7 separate regions of the Homo sapiens genome follow, and regions 2, 3, 4, 5, 6 and 7 are each linked to region 1. Evidence: promoter capture Hi-C in human tissues and cell types (Jung and others, 2019). All regions are on one chromosome and are shown on one strand. Each heading gives the region's core, a stretch centred on a gene start or on the middle of the fragment in contact. The rest is flanking DNA. Distances are from core to core; before and after follow the strand shown.

What was found. Contacts are between HindIII fragments. The study calls those that stand out against the background at their distance.
Region 2: a contact is called between a fragment that was not itself captured here and the fragment with the promoter of KLRG2 in region 1, in 2 of the 25 tissues and cell types used here (dorsolateral prefrontal cortex and lymphoblastoid cells).
Region 3: a fragment that was not itself captured here is called in contact with the fragment with the promoter of KLRG2 in region 1 in 2 of the 25 tissues and cell types used here (mesenchymal stem cells and thymus).
Region 4: a fragment that was not itself captured here is called in contact with the fragment with the promoter of KLRG2 in region 1 in 5 of the 25 tissues and cell types used here (aorta, dorsolateral prefrontal cortex, lymphoblastoid cells and 2 more).
Region 5: a contact is called between a fragment that was not itself captured here and the fragment with the promoter of KLRG2 in region 1, in 2 of the 25 tissues and cell types used here (IMR-90 fibroblasts and lymphoblastoid cells).
Region 6: a fragment that was not itself captured here is called in contact with the fragment with the promoter of KLRG2 in region 1 in 1 of the 25 tissues and cell types used here (IMR-90 fibroblasts).
Region 7: a fragment that was not itself captured here is called in contact with the fragment with the promoter of KLRG2 in region 1 in 2 of the 25 tissues and cell types used here (IMR-90 fibroblasts and lymphoblastoid cells).

Annotation. Positions count from the first base shown.
Region 1 is chr7:139,482,378-139,485,345 of GRCh38, reverse strand. It overlaps KLRG2 (killer cell lectin like receptor G2), which reads left to right and starts at 1,673. Exons shown (of 5, transcript NM_198508.4): 1 at 1,673-2,460. The coding sequence starts at 1,704. RefSeq lists silencers at 1,504-1,563, 2,024-2,303 and an enhancer at 2,434-2,513. The HindIII fragment of the contact is 6,160 bases long and covers 1-2,968 here.
Region 2 is chr7:140,101,332-140,104,587 of GRCh38, reverse strand. KDM7A (lysine demethylase 7A) reads left to right here. Exons shown (of 20, transcript NM_030647.2): 12 at 2,428-2,637. Among named protein-coding and RNA genes, the nearest start is that of PARP12, 40 kb to the right of the region's middle. The HindIII fragment of the contact is 3,256 bases long and covers 224-3,256 here.
Region 3 is chr7:140,025,886-140,029,263 of GRCh38, reverse strand. It overlaps PARP12 (poly(ADP-ribose) polymerase family member 12), which reads left to right. Exons shown (of 12, transcript NM_022750.4): 9 at 576-651; 10 at 1,858-1,988; 11 at 2,916-3,067. Among named protein-coding and RNA genes, the nearest start is that of PARP12, 35 kb to the left of the region's middle. The HindIII fragment of the contact is 6,744 bases long and covers 1-3,378 here.
Region 4 is chr7:140,008,045-140,011,431 of GRCh38, reverse strand. The region is part of intron 10 of TBXAS1 (thromboxane A synthase 1); the gene reads right to left. Among named protein-coding and RNA genes, the nearest start is that of PARP12, 53 kb to the left of the region's middle. The HindIII fragment of the contact is 5,138 bases long and covers 1-3,387 here.
Region 5 is chr7:140,125,844-140,129,319 of GRCh38, reverse strand. It overlaps KDM7A (lysine demethylase 7A), which reads left to right. Exons shown (of 20, transcript NM_030647.2): 5 at 1,737-1,878; 6 at 2,497-2,683. Among named protein-coding and RNA genes, the nearest start is that of KDM7A, 49 kb to the left of the region's middle. RefSeq lists an enhancer at 3,454-3,476. The HindIII fragment of the contact is 5,645 bases long and covers 1-3,476 here.
Region 6 is chr7:140,242,474-140,245,896 of GRCh38, reverse strand. The region is part of intron 1 of LOC107986854 (a long non-coding RNA gene); the gene reads right to left. Among named protein-coding and RNA genes, the nearest start is that of KDM7A-DT, 67 kb to the right of the region's middle. RefSeq lists a silencer at 2,174-2,468. The HindIII fragment of the contact is 3,739 bases long and covers 277-3,423 here.
Region 7 is chr7:140,043,528-140,046,709 of GRCh38, reverse strand. The region is part of intron 5 of PARP12 (poly(ADP-ribose) polymerase family member 12); the gene reads left to right. Among named protein-coding and RNA genes, the nearest start is that of PARP12, 18 kb to the left of the region's middle. RefSeq lists a silencer at 315-515. The HindIII fragment of the contact is 4,828 bases long and covers 1-3,182 here.

The sequences.
Region 1 (2,968 bases), core at 424-2,923:
AGAGACGGGGTTTCACTGTGTTGCCCAGGCTGGTCTTGAACTCTTGAGCTCAGTCAATCCGCCCACCTCGGCCTCCCAAAGTGCTGGGATTACAGGCGTGAGCTGCCGCGCCCAGCTTAATTTTTGCTTTTTTAGTAGAGACAGGATTTCAGCATGTTGGCCAGGCTGGTCTCGAACTCCTTACCTCAAGTGATCCACCTGCCTCGGCCTCCCAAAGTGCTGGGATTACAGGCTGAGCCACCACGCCTGGCCTCATCCCTTCTTAAAACGAGTTTTCCATTTGCAAACTGCTGGTTTCTTGGGGGCATTGTCCCCATGAGCTTTTCATAAAAATATCAATGATGTCACCATAAATGTGATGATTATTCTTGCTTCAAATTTAGCAGAATCCTTGTTGCTCTGACAGGAGCTCTTTTCAAACTGATGTCTTATCCTTCTTAGTGCCTCAAACTAGATCTTGTCGAGACATGTGATAACAAGTTAGTACAAATTTATTTTGGTGCCAAAAAATTTTCAAATCCATGCATAGTTTTTTTCATAGTATGAATTTTCCATGAACCTTTTGAAGACCGCTTGTATAGAAAAAAACAGTATATATAGGGTTTGGTGCTATCCAAAGTTTCAGGCATTCACTGGGAGGTCTTGGAACTATCCCAGTGGATAAGGGAGGACTACTATGCTAAAAACTATCCCTTGTTTAACTGAAATTCAAATTAAACTGAGTGGCCTGCATTTTATCTGCCAACCCTACCCTGGGGGCACTTAAAAATACCAGAGGCCAGGCGGGGCGCGGTGGCTCACGCCTGTAACCCCAGCACTTTGGGAGGCCGAGGCGGGCAGATCACGAGGTCAGGAGATCGAGACCATCCTGGCCAACATGGTGAAACCCCGTCTCTACTAAAAATACAAAAATTAGCCGGGCGTGGTGGGGTGGGTGCCTGTAGTCCCAGCTACTCACGAGGCTGAGGCAGGAGAATCGCTTGAACCTGGGAGGCGGAGATTGCAGTGAGCCGAGATCGGGCCACTGCACTCCAGCCTGGCGACAGAGCAAGACTCCGTCTCAAAAAAAAAAAAAAAAAGAAGAATTGCTTATCCACGCCCTGTTTCTTTTCTCTTAGCGTTACTCAGTGGGGGAGTCCTCCCAAGTATGATGGAGAGTCCTTTCGAAACCCTGCTGGATTGTCAGGACAACCAACTGGGCTACTTTTCCACAGGTCGCCCCAATTCCTTTGGATTCTGATTTCTCTGAGGTCCCAGGATCCAGACAGGCTTGGCCAATCCTTCCCCGCCCAAACTGTAACTCTCAAAACCAACACCCCGGCATAGGGCTGGAGGGGAAAATGGGTGAGGTCAGAGACAAAGAAGAGGGAAGGGTCAGGCGGGGCTCCGGGTTCCCTGCCACAAGCCTCCGCTGGTGTTCTGCTTTTCTCCCGAGAGCTCCCGCCCACCCTGCAACCCTCGCCTGGCCCCGCTGCCGTTCTCAGCTCCCTCCCAGTGCCTGGTGGAGGCCGGGGCTGTGTCCCGAAGGGGGTCGGGGCAGCAGAACCTCAGCCACAGCCAATCACAGCGGGGTCCTTCGGGGAGGGGCGTGGCCTGACAACTTCGGCGACGCGGCTGGACCAATCCGGACGGAGGAGAGCGAAGCTCCTCTGCACTGGGCCCAGGTGCGCTCCTCAGCGTCTCCGGGTGGCGGGGCGCGCGGGATGGAGGAGTCTTGGGAGGCTGCGCCCGGAGGCCAAGCCGGGGCAGAGCTCCCAATGGAGCCCGTGGGAAGCCTGGTCCCCACGCTGGAGCAGCCGCAGGTGCCCGCGAAGGTGCGACAACCTGAAGGTCCCGAAAGCAGCCCAAGTCCGGCCGGGGCCGTGGAGAAGGCGGCGGGCGCAGGCCTGGAGCCCTCGAGCAAGAAAAAGCCGCCTTCGCCTCGCCCCGGGTCCCCGCGCGTGCCGCCGCTCAGCCTGGGCTACGGGGTCTGCCCCGAGCCGCCGTCACCGGGCCCTGCCTTGGTCAAGCTGCCCCGGAATGGCGAGGCGCCCGGGGCTGAGCCTGCGCCCAGCGCCTGGGCGCCCATGGAGCTGCAGGTAGATGTGCGCGTGAAGCCCGTGGGCGCGGCCGGTGGCAGCAGCACGCCATCGCCCAGGCCCTCCACGCGCTTCCTCAAGGTGCCGGTGCCCGAGTCCCCTGCCTTCTCCCGCCACGCGGACCCGGCGCACCAGCTCCTGCTGCGCGCACCATCCCAGGGCGGCACGTGGGGCCGCCGCTCGCCGCTGGCTGCAGCCCGGACGGAGAGCGGCTGCGACGCAGAGGGCCGGGCCAGCCCCGCGGAAGGAAGCGCCGGCTCCCCGGGCTCCCCCACGTGCTGCCGCTGCAAGGAGCTGGGGCTGGAGAAGGAGGATGCGGCGCTGTTGCCCCGCGCGGGGTTGGACGGCGACGAGAAGCTGCCCCGGGCCGTAACGCTTACGGGTGAGTGCTCACCTGCGCCGGCAGCCGACGCCGCCAGGTCGGGTGGACGTAGCCGAAACCCCCACACCCGCCCAGCCCTGGACCGCTGGGCAGCTGACCGACTAAGGGACCCAGTTGGCCATCCCGATCCCCAACCCGATCTGGCCTCTCGGGCTTACAATCAATAACATTCCTGTCTACGTAACTGTAATTCACATTGTTGCCGTGTCTCACGCCTGTAATCCCAGCACTTTGGGAAGCCGAGGCGGGCGGATCACCTGAGGTCAGGAGTTCGAGACCAGCCTGACCAATATGATGAAACCCCGTCTCTACTAAAAATACAAAAATTAGCCTGGCATGGTGGCATTCACCTGTAATCCCAGCTACTCAGGAGGCTGAGACAGGAGAGTCGCTTGAACCCGAGAAGCGGAGGTTGCAGTGGGCCGAGATCATGCCATTGTACTCCAGCCTGGGCAACAAGAGAGAAACTCCGTCTCAAAAAAAAAAGAGTAAAGCCACTCCCCTTCTC
Region 2 (3,256 bases), core at 602-3,101, 620 kb before region 1:
TTGACAAATCTGCAATGGGGAAACGATTCCCTATTTAATAAATGGTGCTGGGAATGGCTAGCCATATGTAGAAAGCTGAAACTGGATCCCTTCCTTACACCTTATGCAAAAATTAGTTCAAGATGGATTAAAGACTTAAATAGTAGACCTAAAACCATAAAAACCCTAGAAGAAAACCTAGGCAGTACCATTCAGGACATAGGCATGGGCTATGACTTCATGACTAAAACACCAAAAGCAATGGTAAGAAAAGCCAAAATTGACAAATGGGATCTAATTAAAGAGCTTCTGCACAGCAAAAGAAACTACCATCAAAGTGAACAGGCAACCTACACAATGGGAGAAAATTTTTGCAATCTACCCATCTGACAATGGGCTAATATCCAGCATCTACAAAGAACTCAAACAGATTTACGAGAAAAAATCAAACAACCCCATCAACAAGTGGGCGAAGGATAGGAACAGACACTTCTCAAAAGAAGACATTTATGCAACCAACAGACACATGAAAAAATGCTCATCATCACTGGCCATCAGAGAAACGCAAATCAAAACCACAATGAGATACCATCTCACACCAGTTAGAATGGCAGTCATTAAAAAGTCAGGAAACAACAGGTGCTGGAGAGGATGTGGAGAAATAGGAACACTTTTACACTGTTGTTGTGACTGTAAACTAGTTCAACCATTGTGGAAGTCAATGTGGCGATTCCTCAGGGATCTAGAACTAGAAATACCATTTGACCCAGCCATCCCATTACTGGGTATATACCCAAAGGATTATAAGTCATGCTGCTATAAAGACACATGCACACGTATGTTTATTGTGGCACTATTCACAATAGCAAAGACTTGGAACCAACCCAAATGTCCATCAATGATAGACTGGATTAAGAAATTGTGGCACATATACACTGTAGAATACTATGCAGCCAAAAAAAGGATGAGTTCATGTCCTTTGTAGGGACATGGATGAAACTGGAAGCCATCATTCTCAGCAAACTATCACAAGGACAAAAAACCAAACACCGCATGTTCTCACTCATAGATGGGAATTGAACAATGAGAACACATGGACACAGGGTGGGGAACATCACACACTGGGACCTGTCGTGGGTTGGAGGGGGGGGGAGGGATAACATTAGGAGAAATCCTAATGTAAATGACAAGTTAATGGGTGCAGCACACCAACATGGCACATGTATACATATGTAACAAATCTGCACGTTGTGCACATGTACCCTAGAACTTAAAGTATAATAATTAAAATAAAAAAAAAAAGGAAATGCTGACACATGGTATAGCGTGGATGAACCTTGAAGATATTTTGCTAAGTGAAATAAGCCAGTCACCAAAGGACAAATTTTATAAAATTCCACTTATATGAGGTTCCTAGAAGTGTCAAATTCATAGAGAATGCAAGTAGAATGGTAGTTGCTAGGGGTTGGCGGGAAGGGAGAATGGGAAATTATTGTGTAGTGGGTACAGTTTCAGGTTTCAGTTTGTGCAGATGAGAAGCTTCTCGAGATGGATGGCAGTGATGGTTGTGCAACACTGTGACTCTACTTAATGCCACTAAACTGTACACTTAAAAATTGTTAAAATGGCAGATTTTATGTTTATGTTACCACAGTAAAAAAATGTTGCAAGTGGTTGCCTCTGGAGAATGAGAGGGATGGGGAAGAGGAGGCTGCTATTTTTCATGATATGCTTATAGAATATTTAATTTTTAAAACTACATAGATGTATAATTTTAGTTTAAAAAGTAATTCTTAATTTATTCAAATATGTACGTGAAAAGAATGTTCATTGTCGGAAAGAACAGCAGCCTAAATGGCTACCAGTAAGTATTAGGTCAGAAAATTAACAGTGGAATGCAACACAGCCTTTAATAAGATATTGAAAATCAAGGCCCAGTGCAGTGGCTAATTTAACACCGGTAATCCCAGCACTTTGGGAGGCCGAAGCAGGTGGATCCCCTGAGCTCAGGAGTTCAAGACCAGCCTGGGCAACATGGCAAATACTTGTCTCTAAAACATTAGCTGGGTGCAGTGGCGTGCGCCTGTAGTCCCAGCTACTTGGGAGGCTAAGGTAGGAGGATCGCTTGAGCTCAGGAGGTGGAGATTGCGGTGAGGCAAGATTGCACCACTGCACTCCACACACTGCAGCCTGGGTGACAAGAGCGAGACCCTGTGTCAAAAAAAAAAAAAAAATCAAGGAAGTATGTTCACAGTATATTATGTTGGAGAGAGAAGGGATATAAAGTTCTCAGCAAAGCTGTTTGAAGCTTAGGATTTAGTCTTTTTTGTGTTTATATGGTTAAACTGAATGGTTTTTGTTTTCTGAAATATTTTTATGGATGATTATTTAGTCACGTATGTGTGTAACAGCCTTCTTATAAAAATACTCTGATTTTAATTCTTAAAGGAGGAAAACGGCAAACCAGTTAAATCTCAGGGAATTCCTATTGTGTGTCCAGTTTCACGATCCTCAAATGAAGCAACTTCCCCATACCATTCCCGAAGAAAGATGAGGAAACTTCGAGATCATAATGTCCGAACTCCTTCTAACCTAGACATCCTAGAGCTCCACACAAGGGAGGTCCTCAAAAGATTAGAGATGTGTCCATGGGAAGAGGCAAGTATTATGTTTCATGACAACAAAAAGAAACTTGGCTGTTCCTTAAAGTCTTTATAGGGATAATAAGAGAATAGTCTTGACTATTGTTGATATCTAATCTTGGCTGCAGCATTGTAGGGATCAACCAGTAGTTATGCCTGTGACAGGGAGTGGTGCTTAATCTTTCTAAGTTTTAGTGTAGAATTTGAATGAATAGACCTCATTCGATTGCTGATATGTTTATTGAGTCTTTAGCAAGTACCATTTCCTCTTCTAGGCTCTGGAGAAGATTGTGAGCAAAACTTAAGTCCCTGCCCCTCATGAAGCTTCCATCCTAGTTCAAGCTGGAAGGATGGGGAGACAGAGACATATACTAAAATAATACAATTTCAGATGATAAGCGTTATTTAAAAAAAACCCAAAACAATAGAACAACAGAATAAAGGGGGATGGGGTAAAGCTGGCTGCTTTAGCTAAGGTGGTCAGAGAGCCTCTCAGGTTTGAACCGACAGCTGAGTAACAAATAGGAAGAAGTCAAATGGTTACGTGGTGATTGGAGGAATGGCATTACAGGCAGAGGGAAGAGCAAATGCAGAAAGCCTCTACTTGAGCCAGCAGTCAGCCTGGAGGACTGTTA
Region 3 (3,378 bases), core at 626-3,125, 540 kb before region 1:
CACATTAATATTTCTGCAGTAAACAATATGCATAGTCAGTTTAAGAAGGATAGATACAGATCACAGTGGCCTCTTACTAACTTCAGTCAAATTTCTACTGCCAAATGACTTTTGATGTCACTTTTATGTTTTTCAAAAAATGTTTTATTTCATATTTTCTCCTGCTTTTCCTGAGCTGTATAAAAAGTTTTAAAATGTCAATTATACCTCATCGAGGCCTTAAAAAAATGTCTTTAGAGCTCTTAGAATTTCAGAATTGTGGATAAAGGTTTATGGCTGTGTGTGTGCTCCTTTAACCATGTACTCCATCCCTTTTATCCCTTTTGTGTGGTAGTTGGGACACAGGCGAGAAATAGATCTCTCAGGACTGTTTGGAGTTTGGCTACATAGGCAAAGATAAAAGTGCTCTCATGTTGTGAATATCGTGCTAACATTCTTCCTTGCCTTCTACCTGCTCTTGAAATATGATGTGCTGAGACTCAAGACTGGTGATATTGGCTAGCAGAGACCACCTATGGTATATTTGCTTTGTGTAAGAATAAAATGTCTACGTGTTTTTGTTTACATTTTTGTAGCAATACCAAGTTTCCAGGCCCGAAGAGCATCCCAGACTATTGGGACTCCTCTGCCCTGCCAGACCCAGGCTTTCAGGTAGGGGACGCATGCGCCTGGGGCTGGACAGGAAGGTGTTCTGTAGAAGTGGGTGTGTGTGAACAGACTGTGCCATTCCTCAACACTGAAGAAGCTGTAAGGCTGGGGCTAATTGGGGCAGGAGGGCAGTGACAGATGTGGGCTTTATTTTTGTTTTTGTTTTTTGCAGAGGGTTTTGTTTTTTCACCACCCAGGAGTTGGCTGTGGCTCTGAGGGGAGGGGTTGTCTTGTGGAGGGAGGAGGATGAGCGTGAAATTTGCTAGAAAGGGCAGAAATGAGTTTATGGGCTGGGCTTAACCAATAAATACCAATTTTATTAAGCGAGAAAAGGAGAAGCAGCCTGGGGAGGACCTGAGTCCGATGGACATTTGGAATGGGGTTACTGTCAGGAGGGAAGGCATTCACGACTAGCAGACAGGAGAATGGACAGTCAATTTGGCAGCTTGTTGAGGGGCTCTGACCAGTGGGAGCTGTGCTGAGTGCAGGAGAGTACGCAGACTAACATCTGAGGCTGCCCGTCTGCACCTGGGCTGATGTCTGCCAGCTGGCCGGCTGCCGAGCACTGTCTAACTCAGCTTTAAAACGTGACGGTCCCTGTCCTGGGAGGACTTATTGAGCTTGTATAAGGCACATGCAGATGCCAACAGTGCAGGCAAGAAGTGCTAAGGACCTAAAGGGGTTCAACATGTTTGTCTAGACGACTCTGTGGTCCTTGGACCATGTAGTCCAACCTGTGTCTTTGACCTGTGTGGGACAAGAAAAAAAAAAGGCAGGGACATCCAGGGGATACCCTCGATGGTGGCTTAAGCATCACGTGTCTGTCCTTTAGATTGGTTTCACAGTGATGAGGAGCAAAGTGACTACAATTTGCAAACATAGTAAATCCTCAACATCATCAGTAGGTTCTTGGAAACTGACTTAAAGTGGCACAACATACTGTCTAACGAAACCAATTTCCCATATGCTAACTGACATAAACAAGAGGTTTGTTGTTTTACTTAAAATTGCAGTTTCCAAGAACCTATCAATGACATTTCATGAGGACCGATTGTCTCCTGTGCCTGGAGAAACCACAGGAGAATGTGGTCACTGCTCTCTGGGCTTTTGTGCTTCTGCGGTTCTAGTGTTTACAAGAAGCTTTGGGAAGGGACTGATTTATATTCTGCACGTTGATGGTAATGCATTAAAAACATTTGCCCCTTGCAGAAGATCACCCTTAGTTCTTCCTCGGAAGAGTATCAGAAGGTCTGGAACCTCTTTAACCGCACGCTGCCTTTCTACTTTGTTCAGAAGATTGAGCGAGTACAGAACCTGGCCCTCTGGGAAGTCTACCAGTGGTGCGTTGGGGCTCGCTCTTGGTGGGCTGGTGACTCTGTCCCTTCACACCACTGGCTGGTTGCCACATGTGGCCCGGGTTTCCAGGAAAAGCAGAGCGGCAGTTAGGGCTGCCATGTGCTGGGAGCTGTGTGTCTGCTCTCCTTCGTCCGCTCCCCCAGGGCAGTGTGGTAGCACATCCCATTGTAGAGATGAGGGCACCGAGGCTTCCTGGAGCATACCACCTGGTCCCGTTCATGAGTGGTGGCAAAGCTAGCACTCTCACTTGTCCATTCTGCCTTCCTGGAGACCAGTGGGATGGGTCAGTACAGCCCACCACACCATTAGCCCCAGGAACATAAGGCTGTGGCTAGACAGCAGGGGTCTCAGGTTCATACATGAGGACTGGCTTGTCCTTGAGCACCCACTCACCTGTCTATGTGGGGAGGAATCCTACAATAGGTCACCATGGCAGGCTGGGTCTTGCTGACCTGTCCCCAGATGGGGTTGGGGTAGTGTAATGTGTACTCTGTGCACAGTGATGAAGTCTGGGAATGGGAGAGGGGAGAAGGATGGGCACCCACTGACCAGCAGCCTGAAAATTCCTACAGCATCCCAGGGCTCAGCTCCATGCAGGAGCAAGGTGGGGGTGGGGTTGGGGGAAATGGTACCCATTTTCCAAGGGCTGCTCTGCTTTTGGAGTCCAGGGAACCGCTGCTGTCTGGAGCTGTGGAGGGAGGGTTTTCACCCAGCTCCCACGATCCCCCTTCTTTTCCACACCCTGGCTTGTGGCTGGAGCTTACAGGCCTAGTCAGGGTAGCCTGTGACCTGCGTCTCTTGGTCCCAGGACACTTTTGGAATTTTGGAAAAATGTGTTGTTTTGCATCAGGCCGGCTGTATTTGGTGGCCGGCACACTCTGCCCCCAGCACACATTCTTCTGTGATTCTAGGCAAAAAGGACAGATGCAGAAGCAGAACGGAGGGAAGGCCGTGGACGAGCGGCAGCTGTTCCACGGCACCAGCGCCATTTTTGTGGACGCCATCTGCCAGCAGAACTTTGACTGGCGGGTCTGTGGTGTTCATGGCACTTCCTACGGCAAGGGTAAGGCATGACTGGCCTCCACCAGCAAAACCCATGTTGCTTTGCCCCTGCATAGGAACAGACTGCTAGAGGGCATGAGGGGACCAGCCTGAGCTGATGAGCAGGTTCAGACTCCATGTGTGGTGGTACCTGGGCACAGCTACCAGTCACATCCTTGCTCTTGCTCCTCTGGGCATGGTCAGGAGCTTGGCCCCAGGTGTGGGCAGGGTGGCCTGCCTAGGCTGGGGTGTTGCTTCCCTGTGGAGCAGAGGCCCTGGGAGATGGTGACAGAGACGGGAGAGGAGAGGGGATACCTTCCCAGCCCTGATGAA
Region 4 (3,387 bases), core at 794-3,293, 530 kb before region 1:
AACATTTCTAGAAGAATACTTAAATTTCTATCTTTCTCTTCTCTAGGGGATGGGATTGGGATGGAGAATGGCAGGGGGCCTTTTTTTTCTTTTTTTTTTATTCTTCATTGTTTAGGGGACTGTTTTTTTTGTTTGTTTGTTTGTTTGTTTTTTTTGAGACAGAGTCTCGCTCTGCCGCCCAGGGTGGAGTGCAGTGGCACTATCTTGGCTCACTGCAACCTCCGCCTCCCAGATTCAAGCAATTCTCCTGCCTTAGCCTCCCTTGTAGCTGGGATTACAGGTTTCTGCCACCATGCCCGGCTAATTTTTGTATTTTTAGTAGAGTCAGAGTTTCATCATGTTGGTCAGGCTGGTCTTGAACTCCTGAACTCAAGTGATCTTCCCTCCTTGCCTCCCAAAGTGCTGGAATTACAGGTGTGAACCACTACACCCGGCCGGGACTGTTTTTTTTTTTTTGGTTTTGTTTTGTTTGTATAAGCATGCTATTTTGGCAATATAAATAATTAAAAATTCAAAATAATTCTATGCTGGATTTTACTTCAAGCTGTAGGATTGGACTTCCCTAAATATCCTAAAGGAAATGCAATGATTACAGTAATTACTGTTATGCCCTGTTCCTGCCCGTAAGAGATTAAAAGCAGCCTGTGGCTTCTTGCTGCTCCCTCTCTGTTATGAGCCTTTCATGTAACAGACAGGAACAGAAAAAGGCCAGGGCGTGGAGAACCCATTGAGATGCTAAGCTGCTAATGCAATTATATGTGCTTGGAGCTGATAGCAAACACCAGCACTGAAACCAGGGCAGGCAGCTGGGGTTTGTGATGTCTGTACCCGCAGTTCCAAAGGGGTCAGATGAAGCTGTTCCCTGGCACCCTGCTTGTTCTTCTTTTCTGGAAACAGCCTGGACCTGGAGGCAGACCCCCTGGAAGCTGGAAAATAGGGCCTTCCCTTCCCCGTAAACTGAACCTCATAAGAGATCAACAGAAGCTTCAGAACTGCACCGCACAGCATCCGGGAGTCACCTCAGTGGCGCTCAGACAGGGCTGCTGTGTTTCCCACAAGGGCGATTCTGATTTTCTTTTATGAGTAAGTCCAAGTTGTGTCAGCACTTGGGAAAAGTCAACACGCTTTTTGAGATGAAATAAAATAATAAAATAAAAATGCTCACTCTCCCTACATTCACCCCCAAATCCTTTGAGCAGAAGCAGATTGTCCTCTGGTCTGGGTGAGAATTGTGACACCTTGTCTCTCTCATATCTGGTGATCAATAAGAAAAGCCAGCAGAGCTGATAGGGTGAAAAATGCCCATGGAGCAGGTGTGGAGCAGCTGTGAGGCAGGTGTGGGGTGGGTGTGGTGTGGGTGTGGAGCAGGTGTGGGGCGGGTGTGGTGTGGGTGTGGAGGTGTGGGGCGGGTGTGGAGCGGGTGTGAAGCGGGTGTGGAGCGGGTGTGGGGCAGGTGTGGGGCAGGTGCGGGGCAGGTGTGGGGCAGGTGCGGGGCAGGTGTGGGGCAGGTGTGGGGCAGGTGTGAAGGTGTGGGGCAGGTGTGGGGCGGGCATGGAGGTGTGGAGCAGGTGTGGGGCGGCTGTGGGGCGGGCATGGGACAGGTGTGGAGCAGGTATGGGGCCAGCATGGAGGTGTGGGGCAGGTGTGGAGCGGGTGTGGGGCAGGTGTGGGGCAGGTATGGAGGTGTGGAGCAGGTGTGGGGTGGGAGTGGGGCAGGTGTGGAGCGGGTGTGGGGCAGGTGTGGGGTGGGTGTGGGGCAGGTGTGGAGCGGGTGTGGGGCAGGTGTGGGGTGGGTGTGGGGCAGGTGTGGGGCGGGTGTGGGGCAGGTGTGGGGTGGGTGTGGGGAAGGTGTGGGGCGGGTGTGGGGCATGTGTGGGGAAGGGGCGGCTCAGGAGAGCGAGGCTGGATGGAAGCTGTCCATTCCACTGTCCGACCAGTGCCGGCGCTCCTCCCTGCACACATCATGCTGCAGGCAGCTGAGCGGGCACTACAGTTCCACCTGTGCCACCCACTGCCTCTTGCCTGCTTCTGCAGGGCCAGCCAAGCAGGTGTGTGTCCCCATTTAACCCGTAGGAAGGAGAGGCACGGAGCAGCATGAGGCTCACGATCACGCAGTATGCCAAGGCCAGGGCCAAGATGGTCTTCTGACGTGCCCTCTAGACCTGTTAGATGAATTCTAACTACTTCACCCAGGTTCTCTAGTTTCTGTCTGGTCCTCAGGTGAGATCACCAGCTTCCTGGTCCACCTGCACCAACTTCCTTTTCTGCTCTGCTGTTTATAACGGGTCAGTGGAGAATCGGCCACCGCATTTTCATGTTGAAGAGCCTAACCCCTTTGTTATTCAACATGACAGCTAATAAGGTCTTGTCTGATGGATTCGTGGCTGAGTTTAGGTCCAGGAAGTACTGTGTCCATTGATCAGTTTCTGTGCTGTCCTCTTGCTGGAGAACACACCTGTTTGGCTTGGCTGCTCTCCCTCTTGGCCAGGAGCCCTGGTCACCAAGCCACAGCTGGACCCCAGCTACCAGCCAGCTCTGGGGCCCTGTAAGGCCTTCTTTCCTTTAAATGGCCTTTGTTCTATTTGATCCCTGAATGCTTTATCTTGAACTTCATTTTAACATGTACACCAGCTTCCCACAATCCCCTTGGAAGAAAGCTGGATATCAATTATGAAAAAAATAAGGCTGGGATTGGTGGCTCACGCCTGTAATCCCAGCACTTTGGGAGGCCAAGGCAGGCAGATCACCTGAGGTCAGGAGTTTGAGACCAGCCTGGCCAACGTGGTGAAACCCCGTCTCTACTAAAAATACAAAAAATTAGCCGGGCATAGTGGCGGGCACCTGTAATCCCAGTTACTTGGGAGGCTGAGACAGGAGGATCTCTTGAACCCAAGAGGCAGAAGTTTCAGTGAGCCAAGATCACACCATTGCCCTCCAGCCTGGGCAACAGAGCAAGACTCCATCTCAAAAAAAAAAAAAAAAAAGAATAAAAGAAAGAATTGGATGACAGTTTGCAAGAGGCTCCAAAGGAGATCAGGGAAGGGCTGCACATCAGGTCTTAATGCTGGCATGGGGAGAGGGGGCACAGAGCCCCTGAGTGACTGGCCTGCTTCCACACTGAGACCCAAAACCTTGTGTGCTTGAGGACAATGCAGTTCGAATCACGCCACCGGAATTTTCTGTATTTGCTTCTGGACTTGAACATTTGGACAATGTCTACAATTGCATTCTTTGTAATGCTTTTGTGTTGAAATATCGTTTTGAGATACCCTCAAATCATCCACATATTGTCTTTAAAAATGGTGAAAGGTATTTCCATATGGTTTATGTGATCTGTTAATTCATAAAAGTGTTGAGTGGAATTTATCACATACGGTTAATGCTTTG
Region 5 (3,476 bases), core at 857-3,356, 640 kb before region 1:
CAGAAAAACAGAATGACAATTTACTTGATTTTATTTACTCAGCTTCATCCTGCTGCTTTCTTTTGTGCCATTAAGTTCTCTGATACTTGCTTAGGGAAAATCATTACTGAGGGATAGATATAGATACCAGGAAGAAGATATTGGAAAGTTGGATTGGTTGTAGGCATCTGTAGAATACAGGTGCAAAATTCCCAGATCCCAGTACACCAGCTGCACAGTTAGTCCTCTGGAGTCTGCTTTGTGACCTGCTGCTGCTTAGAGGAAAGGTGGTAAAAAGAGCAGATCATTTTCAAATCTGTTTTTATAATAATGACTTGGTGAATATTGCCATTTAATGATGTCTGGACTTAATTTTTGATTTTGAAAATTCCCCAAAGAAACAGAAAGACATGAGAAATAAGGGGGATCCCCTATACCCCTTGCCATGTTGTTGACATTTTCAGTCATTTCATTAATTCTCGTGATATTTACAGATAAAGCTGACTATATGTAGATGTCATTTCTTGTCAGCAGTAGATAGAGAATATTTGAGATTAGATTCCAAATCTATTTTGACTCAAAATTGTATATTTACTATATTATCTCCTCAGCATGGAATATCTGAGAACTTGTCCCTTTATCGAGCCATTGGTTGACAATTCTCATTGATTATTGTTTCACTGAGGAAATCTAACTAAGTATTGTAACTTCACATTCAGCTAAATTTGAATATTTGACAAGTGAGAGGATGGGGCTAAGGATTAACCTGAACCTATTTGCGTAGATAGCATCTGCAAAACAAATAGCTAGTGTAATACATGTGCAGGAAAAAAATGCTCAAACTGCTTGATAGCTAACTTTTTGGTACTGCAGAGCACTTCAGTTAAATACTATGAGCAGAACCGTGTTGCCTCCTGATGATAAAGAAGTCTATAAGGCAAGACTTTCTTAACCTATATGAAGTTGCATTAAAGTAAGAAAATGGCATTTATTTGTTTTCTATTTCAGATTGGTTAAGTATTGCCATATTTTGAATTCTACCTTATCCCATAGTCCATTGTCAAACTAATTATGCTTCCTAGTGTAGCAGTGCAGTGGTCTGTAAACACCACTTCATGGGTTTATACGAAAACTGTAAATTAATCACAATTTGGAACTCAGGCCTTCGGACACTGGTACTAATGTGAACTGATTTTTGCTTCCCAATCACTAATTTTTTCTTAAAGGAGAATATTAGAAGACAGTATCAGGAGGGCAGAAATTATCCTGGTCAACTTGCATGCTAATTCCCCAATGAGTGATGTGTTTTTTTTTGAAATGATAGCCTTAGAATATTTTAGGTGTTACAAAAGTGAAAGGGAAAAGTCAGTCTCCTCATTTTATGCCTGAGAAAACTGAAATCCAGACAGTGTTGCACAATTTCTACATGCCAATATAATGTATTTTTTTGTCATTATGAGCTGTACACCAAGATATCATTAGTATACAGAAAGCTTTGTAAGCCATATACACTTTTATATTCAGTGTAAATTGTGCAGCTCTGTCTTACTGCTTTCCTTTTCCTCTGAAAAATGTCCCTTTTTTCCTGAAAGGTCCAGTTGAACTTGAGAAATTAAGAGTATAGGGAAAATATTTGTCTAGACTACATAGTTTTATAGTTGGTTTAATTATCATACCAAGTTAAAATATTTTTTGATTAGAGCATCTGCTGATGTAACTCTTAAGTCCAATAATAAGACTGTAATTTTTCTCTGCAGGTGGTGACAAAGTGATAGATGTCATTGATGTGGCGAGGCAGGCAGACAGCAAAATGACACTTCACAATTATGTTAAATACTTCATGAATCCTAACAGACCAAAAGTGTTAAATGTGATCAGCCTTGAATTTTCAGATACAAAGTGAGTAGTTCTGGGTATTTTGGTTTAGCATTCTGAGTGTTAGCTAAATGTAGTGTAATGATGTATTTATTTTAGGAAGAAACATAGTTGTGACTTCTAAAGTTGTCCAGTGGTAGCAATGTTATAAATTTTGCATTGGGACACTCAGAGATACTTAGAAATAAGATGTATTTTAAACTTTTGGCTGGGCACAGTGGCTTATGCCTTAATCCCAGCATTTTGGGAGGCCAAGGCGAGTGGATCGCTTGAGGCCAGGAGTTCAAAACCAGCCTGGCCAACATGGCGTAACCCCCTCTCTACTAAAAATACAAAAATCAGCTGGGCATGGTGGCACATGCCTGTAATCCCAGCTACTCAGAGAGGCTGAGGCACGAGATCTCTCGAACCCGGCAGGATGGAGTTTGCAGTGAGCCAGGATCGCGCCACTGCACTCTAGCCTAGGCGACAGAGCAAGACTCTGTCTCAAAAACAAACAAACATGTGTTTTAAACTTTTAAGTGTTGTTGTTAACCTTAAGTTCCATTTAATTATTTGGTTTGGGAATAGATGAGAAAAACAATTCTTAAGAATTTTTAATTTGCATGATGTGGGTGTGTGTGTATGTTTGTTTTTTGAAAGGATGTCTGAATTGGTGGAGGTCCCTGATATAGCCAAAAAACTTTCCTGGGTGGAAAATTATTGGCCAGATGATTCAGTCTTTCCCAAGCCATTTGTTCAGAAATATTGCTTAATGGGAGTTCAAGACAGCTATACAGATTTCCACATTGACTTCGGTGGAACTTCAGTCTGGTACCATGTCCTCTGGGTAAGATTGGGGTATTTTTTGTTCTCTCACTGACAAAAACATATAGCCCTAGTTTTTCAGTGGTATATTCATTTCTTGTAAATGTTACTTGTAAAGGGGGAAGTTTTTTTTTTTTTTTTTACTTTTTAACCAGGAACTGTCACTTTGCCTTTAAACGTTACGATTTTTTTTTTTAATCTCAAATAATGGAAGAGCCATGACTTTTAAATTTATATTAGATTTACTTTCTGCCCTCATCTTTTAAGTTGGTTTCTTTTAGGCTTTTGTCTCTTCTTGATTTTTTTTCCCCTAGTTAATTATCCTTTAATCCCTGAATTAAATATCTGTGAAGGAGCAAAATTACAGTAATAATTGCTTCTGGCCTTAATGTTGGGCTAGGATAGCTTGTTGGATAAGTCAGGAATGCCTATAAAAATACCAGTTCTTGGCTGGGTGTAGTGGCTTACACCTATAATCCCAGCGCTTTGAGAGGAGGCCAAGCTGGGAAAATTATTTGAGCCCAGGAGTTCAAGACCAGCCTGAGCAACATAGTGAGACCCTGTCTCTAAAAATAAAAATAAAAACATTAGCCAGGCATGGTGGCTCATTCCTGTAGTCACAGCTACTCAAGAGGCTCAGGCAGGAGGATCACTTGAGCCCAGGAAGTTGAGGCTACAGTGTGCTGTGATTGCACCACTGCATTCCAGCCTGGGCAACAGAGCGAGATCCTGTCTCTAAAAATAAAAATAAAAAAAGTAGCCAGGCATGGTGGCTCATGCTTGTAGTCACAGCTACTCAAGAGGCTGAGGCAGGA
Region 6 (3,423 bases), core at 897-3,396, 760 kb before region 1:
CTTTGCTAAGACTGGCTGGGCAGACCAAAGACAAGATGGGGGCCAAGGTCCAGGCCTAGTTGAAAAGAAGGCTCAGAGGAGTCTGACTAAAGTTTGGTCAGGGAGACAGCCTTTGTTACAGGTTAGTTGTCTTATAGTACGTTCCACACTGTGCACTCGCCTTTCCTTTTCTTTTTCTTTTTTCTTTTTTTTGAGATGGAGTTTTGCTGTTGTTGCCCAGGCTGGAGTGCAATGGTGTGATCTTGGCTCATTGCAACCTCTGCCTCCTGGGTTCAAGCGATTCTCCTGCCTCAGCCTCCCAAGTAGCTGCCATTACAGGCATACACCACAACGCCTGGCTAATTTTGTATTTTAAGTAGAGACGGGGTTTCTCTGTGTTGGTCAGGCTGGTCTTGAACTCCCGACCTCAGGTGATCCACCTGCCTCGGCCTCCCAAAGTGCTGGGATTATAGGCGTGAGCCAGCGTGCCCGGCCTTGCATTTGTCTTTTCATCCTTTTGGTGAAACTTGTTCCTCTATCACCATTAAGTCATGAGGCTTGATCAGATTCATGTTTATCACATATGGCAGGAATAATTCATAGCTGGTAGTATTAAGTATTTCAGATTACATCACATCAGAAAGTGCATAAGTGCATAATAGCTGCACTATTAGCGATGCTTAGTTGTTGTTATTTTTATTTTTGGAGATGGGGTCTTTTTCTATTGCCTAGGCTGGTGTGCAGTGGCATGATCATAGCTCACTGCAGCCTTGAACTCCTGGGCTCAAGCAATCCTCCCACCTCAACCTCCCTAGTAGCTGGGACTGCAGATAAGTGCCACTCATGCCTGGCTAATTTTTTATTTTTTGGTAGAGACAGTCTCACTATGTTGTCAAGGCTGGTCTCGAACTCCTGGCCTTAAGCAGTCCTCCTGTCTCAGTCTCCAGAAGTGGTGGGATCACAGGCATGAGCCACTGTGCCTGGCTGAGTTTGATCACTTTGGTAAGGTGATGACCACCAGCTGTCTCCATTGCAAAGGGCAATTTTCCCTTTGGTAATTTGCAAGTCATCTGCAGGTAATACTTTAGTCCGATGTGAATATCTTGCTCTTCCATAACCTTCTGTCCAGTGGTTTCATCAAAAATCTTTATTTAATTGGGGGTTGCCAAATAGTGATTTCCAATTCTATCATTCCTTTCAGTTTTATTAGCTGGTATTTCCCTTCCTTTATTCCTTGTTTTGAAGATCACTAGAGATTTTTAAAAATTGTGGCTTGATTTTTAAAAATCAGGCCGGGCATGGTGGCTCACGCCTGTAATCCCAGCACTTTGGGAGGCCGAGGCGGTCAGGAGTTTGAGACAAGCCTGGCCAATATGGCGAAACCCCATCTCTACTAAAAATACAAAAATTAGCCAGGCGTGGTGGCGCGTGCCTGCAGTCCCAGCTACTTGGGAGGTTGAGGCAGAAGAATCTCTTGAGTCCGGGAAGTGGAGGTTGCAGCGAGCAGAGATCGTGCCACTGCACTCCAGCTTGGGCGATAGAGCAAGACTCCATCTCAAAAAAAAAAAAATGTGTTATCAACTATAGTGAGTATTTATTTTGATGTTCAGATTGACTAAATTTGGCCAGTAAAATTTCCTTCAAGCTGGTTGCTGTCTTGGAACACTTCTTTGTCTTCTGGCACAATTTGATGTCCTAGGCTCACTTTCCCTGCCCCAGATTGGGGACCCACCATTTTTCCAAGGGGCAGAAAACATGGTCATCCTCTCAATTACCTAGAGTAGTGGTATCACATTCCACCAGCCTGGCCAACATGACAAAATCCCATTGCTACTAAAAAAATACAAAAATTAGCCGGGCATGGTGGCAGCGCCTGTAGTTCCAGCTAATTGGGAGGCTGAGGCATGGAGAATCGTTTGAATCCAGGAGGTGGAGGTTGCGGTGAGCTGAGATGGTGCCACTGCACTCCAGCCTGGGTGACAGAGCAAGACTCTGTCTCAAAAAAAAAAAAAAAAGAAAGAAAACAGAATAATGGTATCACATTCCTTACCCATTTAAAATTAGCTTAACAGTAGCTACTGTTGATCAAGTGCTGTGCACTGGGCCACGTTTCCATGCATCCTCATTTAATTCACATTAATTCTTTACAGTAGGTTATGTTACTTATCCCTATTTTATAGATGAGGAAATCAGGGTGTGGAGAAGTTAAGTAAACTGCCCAGGTCCTCTCAGCTGGCAAGAGGAGGAGCTAGCAATTGGAACTCTAATCATTCTGATAACAAAGCCCAAGCTTGGAACCACCATAATCTATTGACAATTTGGCTACAAAAGAAGAAAACTCCTTAAGCAGCATTGAACTTGATAATACTACATTTTTAAAAACAAAAACCATGCTTTAAGGTAACAGGTATTAAGCAAAATTTAGGGAAAGAAATCCTTGAGTACAATCTGGAAACTTTCTCATTAATTCCCTTTTTTTTTTTTTTTTTTTTGAGATAGAGTCTCACTCTGTTGCCCAGGCTGGAGTGCAGTGGGAAGATCTCAGCTCACTGCAATCTCTGCCTCCTTGGTTCAAGCGATTCTCCTGTCTCAGCCTCCTGAGTAGCATGAGCCACCACGCCCAGCTAATTTTTGTAGTTTTAGTAGAGATGGGGTTTCGCCATGTTAGCCAGGCTGGTCTTGAACTCCTGACCTCAGGTGATCTGCCTGCCTTGGCCTCTCAAAGTGCTAGGATTACAGATGTGAGCCACCGCGTCTGCCTTTTTTTTTTTTTTTTTTTTTTGAGACAGAGTCTTGCTCTGTCCTTTCTCATTAATTCTAAATTGCCAGTAATCATAGTTTAGAATGATCTTGATCGACCCAGAATATGAGGAGAAAGCTTTCTTACAACTCAGCCAGAAGCCTTATCATGAAGTGAATTGGAGCAGGGACTTTGGACCAAGGGAATGTTGAATGCCCTTCCAGCTTCTCACCTACAAGTCTTTTCTGTGCTTCTGGGACAGTCCATTCAGAGCTTAAGCTGTCCAGGGTAATGAAAGTGTTAGTAGGGGAGAAGAGAAAGCTGCTATGATAATGTAACTATGCCAAGTTGTCGTTGTCATAGGGTGCTGGGGAAGGGGATAGGGAGGGGGACACTTGCCAAACTGGGGGCTGTGACTGCTTGGACAGAGGAGCACCTTTTTCTAATCTGCACAGAGGTGCAGATAAGCACTGCAGGCTAGCAGAGGCCCTAGCTGAGTCAAGTTCTTTCAGTTTGAAGTTGACTGTTCTAGGTTCAAGGGTGAATGACTTTCTATTATCTCTTAATGAGAAAAAACTTCCTTCTCCCAACAAGAATTTCCAGTTGTGGTTATTAGCCTAGGTGTAACCGAAATTGAAAAGTAATTATATTTCTCTTAGCAGCTAAGATTGCCCCCAGCAACCTGCCCATTTCCTGCTTTCACT
Region 7 (3,182 bases), core at 240-2,739, 560 kb before region 1:
AGTCTGGAGGTAGAAGGTGGGCTGGAATCGAAAGTCAGCGTTCATACTGGCAGTTTGGTGGCTTTGTTCTCCCACCTCCCTCTCCTTTCAGACAGGAGCAATGGGGAAAGGAGAAGATGGTACCAAGACCAAGTATTAAGTTCTCAATTGTTTGGTGCTGGGATTGATCATGTACATCTATACTCATTATTACAGAAAAGCGAGAGGTGATAATTTCTATTTGTGAAATTTTGGCCTTTGGCCTATACAGCCATACCGCTGAACTGCTGTTTATGGTTTAACCTTTAACTTTTTTTTTCCCCAAGCATGTCCTAGTATTTTCCCTTAGTTAGTTCAGAGTAAATAGGGGATTCCCGGATAGCCTTCTTTTCAGATACTTAACATATTTTTCATTGAACTTGCTGAAATATGTTGCCAAGAAGAGAATTTGAGCCTGCTTTTTGAGTGTGTAAAATAAATTTGCACTTAGAGTACAATTACGTGCAAATTGCTATTGGTAAAGTATGTGAAACCAATTACTCCTGTTAGGAGGATTAAATGGTTCACATACCACCCCAATCTTTCTTTTTGAGGCAAAATTTACACACAGCGAAGAGCCTAGATATTAAGCATACAGTTCAGTGAGTTTTGACAAATACATACACTTGTGTAGCCAGCATTCTGATTGAGATACGGATCATTTTCCTCACCCCATCTCCTTCCAGTCAGTGCCTACTCCCATCGTTCACCACCGTTCTGACCTCTGTCACCATAGATCTCTGTCTTGCCTGTTCTTGAACCTCATATAAATAGAACCGTGTGGTATGTACTGTTGTGTCTGGCCTCTTTCACTCAAATTCTTCACCCTCCAAATGGGCAAACTACAAGGTCAGACACTTCCCGGCAGAGGAAGCACAGGTGGCCAATAACGTGGATCTGGATTTATTTCTGCCACTCATTATAATTGTCACTGTGACCCACTTTTTGTATATTTCTTTTCTCTTTTTGATCTTCTTGTAGATTTTTTTCCTCACTTGGTTTTTTCCCTTTACTAGTTTGGACGTTATATACTGAATTTTTATTTTTTCAGTGGCTGCTCTGGAAATCTAAACAGACTCTTTATCTTAACAGACTTTTAGCTGAGCTTAAGCCAATCAGTGCCTTTTGTCATTCTGTCAAACAATGAAAGAACCTTGGACACTTGAATTCTGACTAGTTTCATTCAAACTTATTTACTAATTATATAAATTTGGCCAGATTACTTAATCTCATTTTACCTCAGCTTTACTATATGTTAGGTAGACAAAATAATAGTTTCTACGTCACAAGGTTATTTTGAGAATTAAATGAGTTAATATGCATAAAACACTCAGATCACTGCCAGGCACATAAGATGTGGGTCGAGCGCAGCAGCTCATACCTGTTATCCCAGTGCTTTGGGAGGCTGAAGTGGGAGGATTGCTAGAGGCTGGGAATACACAACTAGCCTGGGCAACATAAAGAGACCTTGTCTCTACAAAAATTTTTAAAAAAATTAGCTGAGCATGGTGGCGCGTGCCTGTAGTCCCAGCTACTCAGGAAGCTGCAGAGGGAGCACCATTTGAGCCCAGGAGTTTGATGCTGCAGTGAGCTATGATTGTGTCACTACACTCCAGTCTGGGTGACAGAGCTAGATCTTGTCTCTATTAAAAAAAAAAAAAAGAAAAAGATGCACTGTATGTATTGCTGATATAATATTTTTAATCCTAGAGGTTAGAAATTCGTATTGTTTTAGGCAGTCAGTATTTGTTTAAGCTTACACAATTACCATTTTGTTTCTTACTCACCATTCCTTTGCTCACACTTCTCCTTGTTTATCATTTTCTTTCTTTAAGTTCCTCTGTTGGAGGTTGCTTTAATGAGAGTCTGGAGGTAATTGTGTATTTTGTTAGTCTGAAAGGGTTTTTATTCCCTTCTCATTCTTGAAAGATAGTTTTACTGGGTATTTTCCCTCAGTTCTTCAAAGACTATTTCATTGTTGTCTGGATTCCATTGCTTCTACTTAGAAGTTAGCTATCAGCCTAAATCGAGGTGGTATTAGTTCACTTCTTAGGGCTGCTGTAACAAATTACCATGAACTTGATGGCTTCAAACAACAGAAATTTATTTTCTCGGTTCTGGAGGCTAGAAGTCCAAACTGAAGGTGTTAGCAGGGCCTTGCTCTGTCTGAAGGCTTTACAGGAGGATCCTTTCTTGCCTCCTCCAGGATTCTGATGCTTAGAAATCCTTGGCATGCCTTGGCTTGTAGACGCGTCACTCCAATCTCAGCCTCCATTGTCACAGGCATTTCCCCATGTGTCTGTGTTCAAATTTCCCTCGTCTTAAAAGGACATCAGTTTTGGATTAGGGCCCACCCGAATCCAATATGACCTCATCTTAACTTGATTATATCTGCAAAGACCCTATTTCCAAATAAGATCGCATTCATGGGTACCAGGGATTAGACCTTCAGCATATCTTCTTGGGGACACAATTCAATCCAGTATAATAGATAGTCTGTTTTTTTCTCTCTGGCTGTTTTTAATATCTTGTCATTCTTTGGTGCTGTGCAGTTTCACTAAAATCTGTGTGTGGATTTAAAAAAATTTATGCTACTCATATTTTGCTGTGCTTTCTGATTTCCTCAGCCATGATCTCCTTAAGTATTCCTTCTCTGGAATTCTCATTAGATATATGGTGAAGTCTTCTCACTTTATCTTTTATGTCTTCTAACTTCTCTTTTATTCTCTTTCTAAACTCTGCCACATTTCTTCCTCTCAGGCTCTCAGTTCATTAGTTCAGACTCTTCTGAGATGCAGTGTGTCCCATCGAAGTATGATTTTTAAATTTCAGTTAATTTAATTATGTTTAAAAGTTCTAAGGTCGGGAGCAGTGGCTCACGCGTGTAATCCCAGCACTTTGGGAGGCTGAGGAGGGCGGATGGCTTGAGGCCAGGAGTTCAAGACCAGCCTGGCCAACATGGTGAAACTCTGTCTGCACAAAAAAATACAAAAATTAGCTGGGCGTGGTGGTGCATGCCTGTAATCCCAGCTACTCCTCGGGAGGGTGAGACAGGAGAATCGCTTGAATCCGGGAGGCGGAGATCACGATGAGCTGAGATGATGCCACTGCACTCCAGCCTGGGTGACAGGGTGAGACTCTGTCTCAAAAAATAAAAAATTAAA